Linked DNA regions of Homo sapiens: region 1 is linked to region 2. Evidence: promoter capture Hi-C in human tissues and cell types (Jung and others, 2019). All regions are on one chromosome and are shown on one strand. The core of a region is centred on a gene start or on the middle of the fragment in contact, and the rest is flanking DNA. Distances in the headings are between cores, read along the strand shown. Region 1 has its middle 38 kb from the start of LINC00670. Region 2 holds the start of MYOCD (myocardin).

What was found. The method cuts DNA at HindIII sites, captures the fragments that hold promoters and counts their contacts. A contact is called where the count stands out against the background at its distance.
Region 1: a fragment that was not itself captured here is called in contact with the fragment with the promoter of MYOCD in region 2 in 1 of the 25 tissues and cell types used here (aorta).

The regions. Positions count from the first base shown.
Region 1 is chr17:12,509,798-12,513,960 of GRCh38, forward strand. No RefSeq gene overlaps it. Among named protein-coding and RNA genes, the nearest start is that of LINC00670, 38 kb to the right of the region's middle. The HindIII fragment of the contact is 3,132 bases long and covers 1-3,060 here.
Region 2 is chr17:12,663,381-12,668,043 of GRCh38, forward strand. It overlaps MYOCD (myocardin), which reads left to right and starts at 2,510. Exons shown (of 14, transcript NM_001146312.3): 1 at 2,510-2,863. The coding sequence starts at 2,809. The HindIII fragment of the contact is 11,548 bases long and covers 1-4,663 here.

The DNA of each region.
Region 1 (4,163 bases), core at 245-2,744, 150 kb before region 2:
TTAAGCATGTGGTTAAACAATATCAGATTTATAGCTCTCTGGCTGCCATGTGAGAATCCAATTAAGAGGAAGGTTAACATGTATATAGCTGTCCAGGAGAGATGATGGAAGATTGGATTCCAGTGGAAACAATGAAAGTGGATAAAGGATCTAAGAAATTTAAGAGATATTTTGGAGATGAGACACAGACTTCATTCACTTTAGGTGTCTTTGTAAGCTTGGGTTGCCATAACAAAATACTGTAGACTGGATGGCATAAGCAACAGAAATTTATTGTCTCACCATTCTGGAGGCTGTAAGTTTGCGATCAGGGTGCCAGCAGGGTTAGGTTCTGGTGAGGGCTCTCTTCCTGGCTTGCAGATAGCAGCCTGCTTACTTTGCCTTCACATTTCAGAGAAAGAAGGAGAGCTGTCTAATATCTCTTCTTGTAAGGGCACTGACTCCATTATTAGAACCCATCCTGAGGAACTCATCTGTACCTAATTACTTCTCAAAGGCCCCCTCTCTAAATACTATAACATTGGGAATTAGAGCCTCAACATATGAATTTTGGGGGACACAGTTTTGGCCATAGCAGCATGTGTACACACACACAAACACACACACAAACACAGAGACAGACAGAATGTACACCTGGAATCACGGTGACCTAAGTGGCCACAAAATCTTCACCCATGTCTACTTGGGGAGAAGTTACTCTCTAGGTTTCAAAATCAACCTGGGTGATCTGTGATGGTGATGTCTGCAGCTTAAGATTTACACGTCATTAGCAAGTTAAATTACTTATCCTCTTCAATCTCGGTTTTCCCATCAGAAGACTGAAATTATTAAAATGTACTCTGTAGAAGCTCAGAAGTTCGAGATAGTACATTCTGAGGGCCTGTCTGAGATCCTGCTATATTTTAAGACAGAAATGGTTGTCAGATTTTAAAGCTGATGTTCTGCATGTTTTCTAGAAAACAGAGTCAGAGAATAAGAATTTATTAGTGTTTATCCAACATTCTCTTCAAGTCAGTAGACATGAGTCACCAGAAGTGTACTCTGCATTTAAACATTGGTGTTTTCTGTAACTTTAAAAATGGTCAAAACTATGTATGTAGTCAGGAGTTCTATGCATTGAGGACCAGCTCTGTGCCAGGTACAATGCTGAGGACTTGGGACCTAGCGGTGAGCCAAAAAAAAAAATGTCCTGGTCTCAGCCTCCCTGGAGCTCGCCGTCTACTATGAATATAGATTTTGAATAAGTGGCTGTAAGTTAGAGGGCTGTGAAATGGGAAGTCTGTGGTGGATGGGAGCAGGTAACAGGGGGAGCTAAACCAGTCTTGGCGATCAGTCAAGCCATCTTTGAGGAAACAACCATTGGGTTGAGATTTGAAGGATGAACAAGAATGATATAGGTGAAAATGGGGAAAGAAGCATATCAGGCAGAGAACAGTTTGGAGACACAAAAGAATATGGCTCCTTAGAGAAACTAATAGAAAAAGTGGTGCATTCAAGAGTAGAGTGAGCAGGACACAATGGTCCAGGATGAGGCCAGGGCACCAGACAGAGGACAGAGCGTGGAGGGTCTTATAAACCTTATTAAGATTGTTGGATAGTTGTGAGGACAAAAAATAGAAAGCTAATGAAGAATTGCAATGAAATATCACACAGAGATTTTCTACCCTCTAATCAAGAAATAGTAGTAGCAAGAACTATGACAGAGTAAAGGATACCAAAAGGCATCACAAAGAATAGTGACCACCACGAATTTTGAGGGATTCTGTCTCCTTCTTTAAGAAAATGCCGAGCAGTAACTCTAAGAGGCAGCTACCAAGAGATATTGGTAGAAAGAAATGGAAGGTAATTCTGTCCAGACATAAAGACATTTTTAGGCCTACAAATAAATAAGATTAACACAACATCCTATGACACTAGGTAAATGGAGTGAAAATATGTCTATTGGTTAAAAATTATTATGTTGCAAATAACAGAAAACCCAATACTCACACTAGCTTGAGTAATTAAATTAATTGTCTCAAATAATTGGAAATCCAGAAATAAGGCAGCTTCCAAGGTGAGCTAAAGCTGGATTCCAGATCTATTTCTCTGCATTTCTCTTAGCTGTACCCTTCTCTGTGATGGCTACGTTTTCTCCTGGTGGCAACATGGCTAGGGTACCACACACACCACCCAGGAGACGAGAGAGTGCTTCTTCCAGTGGGCCTCTATTAAAAGCAGAGAAGCTTATTTCCCAGAAACCTTGAGCAATCTTTTCCTCATATGATTCAAATTGGGTCCCATAACCATTTTTGAAAGAATCTCTGTGATTGGGAGGGTTTCCTTGTGCTGAGCGGCTGAGACCCAAGCTCCTGTTCCAGTTAATGTGGGGAGCTTGACGGGACCCCCATTGGACAGGTCAGGCTCACCCCCACCGATGGGGGACAGTGATCACCTCTTGAAACACCTGAGATGTATGGGGGAGAGATCGAACATAGATAAATCAGGATCTTGTTAGGAAAGAGAAAGCGAGGAATGGATTCTGGGTAGAAACCAACAATCGCTTACCCCAGGGATGGGCAAACTTTTTCTGTAAAGGGACAGATAGTAAACATTTTAGGCTGTTGCAACTACTCCACTCTGTCTTTGTAATGGGAAAGCAGTTGTATAGACAATACGTAAATGAATGTGCATGGTTATGTTCCAATAAAACTTTATTTACAAAAATAGGTCAAACGTGGCTCCCAGGCCAAAAGTTATTGACCCTTGATTCATTCTATCCTATATTAATCAGCACATTTTAGCTTTCTCCTCTAGATTATTTTCCATCTGAAATTAATCTTGTTGTGAATTTGCTTGTTAATTTTTACCTTATTTCATTCATGTATAAAATTGCTGGGGCCAGCGTGCAAGTGGCAATGAGTGGTTACAAGACAGCAAGGTAAAGAATGTATTTTATCCTGGAGTCCTGCACTCTGTGGGTAGACTCCTATAGGGATGGCTGCTTTGTCATGCTGTGACATTTTCAGATGGTGTTCTTTGAAAAGCTTTAAACTTAATCCAAATAAAGAATGCAGACCTCATTTCATATTCATTGCCTTGCACACTAACAAAGCTTTAGAAATTTTGCTAAATGTGGACTTGGACATGAGTCATATGATTTTTACTAGTGGAGTCATAGCTAAATTAGAAAGACAAGACACAAAGACATTAAGGGACATTAAAGGTGACAAATATGATATGTTACTGGGACTGAGGAGCCAGCGCTTGTATGCTCTTCCTGGTCTTTGTCGATTTTGGAATAGAGATTGGGAAATTAAATTCCAAGAAGGGAAAGAGAAGCATTTACTTTCAAGTTGCAAGGAGCAAAGAAAGAGTAAATACTTTCCCACTGAGCACGATACTGCTCATTTTCTGGCACCATGTTTGACAAGAAGTGATTTCTGACTCACTTGCAAAATAATCTCTTCAGATTTCAACTGAGGAGACTTGGATGAAGTCAAGAGTTGCAAAATGGACGCTTGGAATCAGAAGAGCCACTAAAACCAGGGAGGAAGAATGGGGTGGGTGAAAAAGGAAACATAAGGCAGAAAACTGCAGATATCAGAAAAATGTTACATATAAAAGATGCAATAATACCGATCAATCATGAGACATCATCACTGGCTGGAAGGAAACAGTTGAGATGTGTCACTTCAAATTTTTGTGAGTCTGAAAGGCACCAATAAAGAATGAAGGAATAAGTCACATTTGCAAAAATCAAGAAATTATATTTGTATAGTTTCTAAACCCATTGACAAATTTAGGGTTGACAGAATATTGTGGAGCTGTTACCTTTGGCCGGGCAACCATGAGGAGGTGTTATCGATCCAAATTGCCTTGACTGAATCTTTGTTTACCCCTCACACTGTAAAGGTTTCTTTTTTCTTTTTTCCTTTTAACAATATAAAGAATTAGAAGTTAGGTATCAGTCCTCAAAAATCTTTCTTTGTGCTCTTGTCCAATTCAAATGTTTACGAAGTTGCATCATGAATAGAAAGTTGTAGAAGGCTTGCAGCCTCCTGTGAATACGCAAATAAAGATAATAATTCAGAAAAACATTGAAAAACAACTTGACAAGAGGATAGAAGTGTGAACATAGCATTAATTGGGCTGGGCACAGTGGCTCATGCCTGTAATCCCAG
Region 2 (4,663 bases), core at 1,260-3,759:
GGGAAAATTGAGGGGGGCTATGGTTATTGGCATTTCCCAAACTCACTGAAAAAAAGAAACTGCTTCCCTGCAAACACACATACACACACACACACCACACTCCACACATACACACACGCGCGCACACACACACACACACACACACACTCCCCCTAGGCCTGCAGAGAGAAAACAACTTACTCCTGGCCAGCTCATCTAGGTCATGCAGACCCTACAATCAATGCTGGCTTCAGCTAATTTCATCCCAACTTGCACTGAAAAAATAATTCTCTGCCAAGTTGCCATGTATCTCTTCTCAGCCCCAAAGCCTTCGGGATAAAAATCTGTTTGGCTTTTTCTTTTTTCTTTTTTTAATGTTGCTCAAAATAGTTTTCTCTGCTCAGATAATTTTGCAATATTCCTTATCCCACCAATCTCTTCCCTGTAGAGTACCTCCCTGCCACACACATCTCAAAGCCGGTCAGAGCCCTTCCAGACTCCTGTGTGCACCCGTTCCCAAACCTCCCTCCACTTTCCTTCTTCTCATTGAAGACCAGGGGGCTGGGGGTTGACTGAAGACCAGGAGAGGTAGAAGAGAAAGAAAGATCTCAGGCGGAATCATGCCCTCTCCTCCCATGTTCATGTCCTAATCCCAGGAATCTGTGAATAGGTTACATTATACAGCAAAGGGAATCCAGGCAGTGGATGAGATTAGGGAGGATAATAAACTGACTTTATGATAGAGTTTATTTTTGCCGTAAGGTTAATGTAGAAGAGGGAAGCAGAAGGTGGGGAAGGGAGCATTAAAGCGGTAAGATGCAATAGGAACTTGACCCACGATTGCTGGCTTCAAAAATGGAGGAAGCGGCCATGAGCCAAGTACTCGGGCGGCCTCTAGAAGCTGGAAAAGGTGAGGAAATCGATTTTCCCCTAGAGCCTCCAGAAACTAACGCAGCCCCGCTGACACCTTGATTTTGACCCCCTGAGACCCACTTTGGACTTCTGCCCTCCATAACAGCAAGATAATTAATGTGTGCTGTTTTAAGCCACTACATTCGTGGTAATTTGTTATAGCAGGAATGGGAAAATGATGTTACGTAATCGCTGAGATGCTCCTGCACACGAAATCAGCCTATAGACAGGCGCCCAGGCCAGGACTAGATCCCCAAAGGGAACATGGATGGATTGTTCTTCCTCGTCTCTGACACATCAGCAAGAAGGTGTCTATCCCTGAAGACCTTATTTACAAAATCGCCCCGCTCAGATCCAGAGAGTAAGCTCTAGGGCTAACCCCTCTAATGTGTTTTCAGCAACAGGGGATGGGGCAGAGGCCGGGACCAGGACATTAGAGGTTGTCCCCATGAGCTATTGTCACCTCGGGTCTCCATCTGTCACCGACTGATCTTTTAAGGACTCGTAGTATGCAGGCAGGCTTGTGTGTAATAGACGACACCCGGGGTCCACGTGCATATGAAGTTGCAAATAAGCCCTAATTATATACGTATACAGAGTGGTTTTTATGTTCTGAGCCACCAACTATTTAACGGGCTTCTTGAGAGATGGGTCTTTGTTTTATTTCATTGATCCATGTGCCTATAACACCTCGGCCAGATGCACAAATAACTCTGGGTCGGTTACGGAATGGATTTTCCCCTAAGGAGAGACTCATTCGCAGGCAAAGTTTTTGAGCCTTCCCAAGCTAAGCCCAGCCCGAGCTCTGACTTGCCCCCTGCTCCAGAGCCCCTCCCTATTTAGAGCCCAGTAGGTTTTTCACTCCAACTCAGGTATCTTTTCCCATTCCCTCGGGGTTGTGAGGTGGGAGCGTTGTGTCGCAGCTGGATCTCCAGATGCGCCGTGTCACATTTGTCCCCCCAAAAAGCATATCCTAGAAAATGAAAGCCTTTCCATTTCCCCGTGGAAATGCATCTAAGTCCAGTATTGGAGCTGCGAGATACAGAATCGTCTCTGCCAGTGCCCTGAGCCCCTCAAACCGAGGGGAATGCGTGGGCTTCGGTCCGTCGGAAGCTTTTCTTCTCAGGGGTCCAGCTTATTTCCAAATTGCCCCGCGTGAACTGTCCCGCGGGCGCGCACGCCCTTTCGCGCAGCCTTTGCAGCCGGCTGGCGGGAGATCCCGGCCGCTTCCCTTTCGCCGGCAGAAGCCCGGCCGGGGAAGCCCCGGCTGCGCACGCCCATCCCCAGGACCTCGGAGCTCCCAGCGGCTGCCGCAGCCCCGCGAACCACCTGCAAGCCCCGCGGCGTCGCAGCCCTTCCTTCTTTCCTCCGGGCATCCGCTCTTTAGCTCGCGCCCCTCTCCCAGATTCCCGACCCCTGGCCCTGCTCCCGCCCTCTGTGCCTCGGCGGCTGCGGGGCCCGCCGCAAAGAGTTAAGAGCCGGTTCCCGAGACGGCTTCGGCGGCTCCGGGTCCCCAGACCCCGCTCGCCGCTCCTGATTGGCTGAGCGCCTGTCAGTAGTAAAGGGTATCAGATGGCAAAGTTGGGACCTTCATAAAGGCGTGGTGGCGATTCTCCGCAATCGCCGGCAGCCTATGACATCAGACAGGAACGCCTGGGATGCCGCGCTGCTCCTGGCCAACCTCCGAGGAGGAGGAGGGTCCCGCCGGCTAAGAGTTAATTAGCCCCGCACGGCGAGGGGGGAGGCGCCAGTTTTCTGGGGACACTGGCTGCCACTGTACTCCTACCCAGGGGAGCTCACGGAGAGTTGGATGAATTCTGGGTTGTTAGCTGCGGTCAGCTGGGCTCCCGGGAGCCTGTTGCTGGTGGAGAACAGGGGGCGCCTGGCCAAGGGACCAGCGGCTTGCTGAGACTCAACATGACACTCCTGGGGTCTGAGCATTCCTTGCTGATTAGGAGCAAGTTCAGATCAGGTAGGGCTAAGGCATTTAGCATTCCTTCTTAAACTTTCCTCTTCTGCAATTCTCAACTCTAGAACTGCTTTCCAATAAATGTTTCAAAGCCTGCCAGGTCTACCTCAACTTTGTTCCCCAAAAGCACATTGTGGAAGCGAAGAGTTTTGTTTGACTTTGGGGGCCTTTCGTGTCTTCCGTTGTAAGTGCTTTGGGTGGTCGAGTGTGGTTGTTCATCTGTGAAAAGGCCAATCCTTTTATTTTATTTTCTCTGCATCTATGAATAGAAATTTTGGAGGGGTACATTCAGAGGGAGCAACTTTGGAAATGAACAAATAAGGGATTTCAAGTTTGGAAGCTGCGTAGTATCGGTTATAATCGCTGAGAAGATGAACCTGATGTTGTGTGTTAGGTACAGGGGTCACTTAAAATGTAGCTAATCCAAACAAATGTATTTCCCAAAAAAAGTCACTTGGGGGAAGTAAAAATAGCAAATTTGGAGCACACCAAGTATTTAAAATGACATCACTGTAGAAAAAAAAAGAAAGCCCAGTGCCACAAATATTTTTTCCCAAACCATCTGATATTTATAAATAGAGAATTTCCCCCAAAATTTCTGTGTTAGTGGCACATGGAGAAACTTCTCAAAGGACGCTGAGTGGAGGTGAGTGGAAGGGAGAGACGGGAGCTCTAACCGCTTCTCCAGAAGGGCTTGTACACGCGCCCATGGAAGGTGTCTGTGTGGGTCTCCACGTTTAGACAAAGCAACACTTGACTTCTGAAGTTATTTTTCAGTAGCTCTGTGTATAATGTTGGTTTTAGAAAACTGGTTAACAACACACTCAACAATGTAGGACTTCTACTTAGATTGATGACTTTTAGGAGAACTCTGATGTGAACATTAGACATAACAGGTGTCAGAAAGATGCTGGCATAGGTTGCTAAGCTAAAGTTTCCTTAGCCCTTCTACATGGGGCCAACTCAGTTGTTTCACTTGGGATGGATGGTTCAAAAAGGAAAAATGTAGATGCTGGGAGGTAAGGTTCATCTGTGACTTTCTTAGATGCCCTTGGTTTTTAGATGCCTGTGGAGTCAACTGGAGATTTTCTTAGGATCTTCATTGTTGATGCAAGTTGAAAACTCAAGAGCTTAGGCGGTCACAAGTCTCACTGCCCCTGAAGCTCTGGGATGAGTCCGCCAGCCACTGGGGTCGGCAGTGGATTAAGTCCTTCCTTTCCTTTCCATGGTGAGGTGAGGCGGTTGATCTGTTAACCAGCTAGAGACCTCACCACTGCGTTGTATTCGGTCAAAACTGTAAGGCAACACTGCCACCTTTCTGAAGAAGAGAGGATGTAGATTTGTTTTCTATGAGGCTGCATTCATTTCAAATGCTTCCTTGCCAGTTTAAATGTGGAGGGTCTGGGGGTGCTGGTTTGTCTCTAAAAGGATCTGGTGATGTACTTGATAGTAGACTTGCAAAACGCTTATCAATCCCTCCTTCAGCTAAAGTGCAGTGGAGAGGGAAGTCAGTTTTTGCCACACTCCCAACTTCCATCTCAGTGGATTTGTGGAGTCCTGGTGTCTCCTAAGTAGACCCTGAAGACCCTGATCCTGGAGCTTCAGAGAATTCCAGCCTCACTTTTTTTAAAGTTGTGCAGGCTTTTGTGTCATAAGGAAAGGTAGCTTCGGGAAAACATGATATCACAGCAGAAGCAGGCATCCTTAATCCTCCCGTCATTGATAAACAGGGAATCTGGAGTCTGAGATGCAAACATTGATAGTCTCTTGACAGACAAGAGAAAAAAAACAAGTGGAATGTAA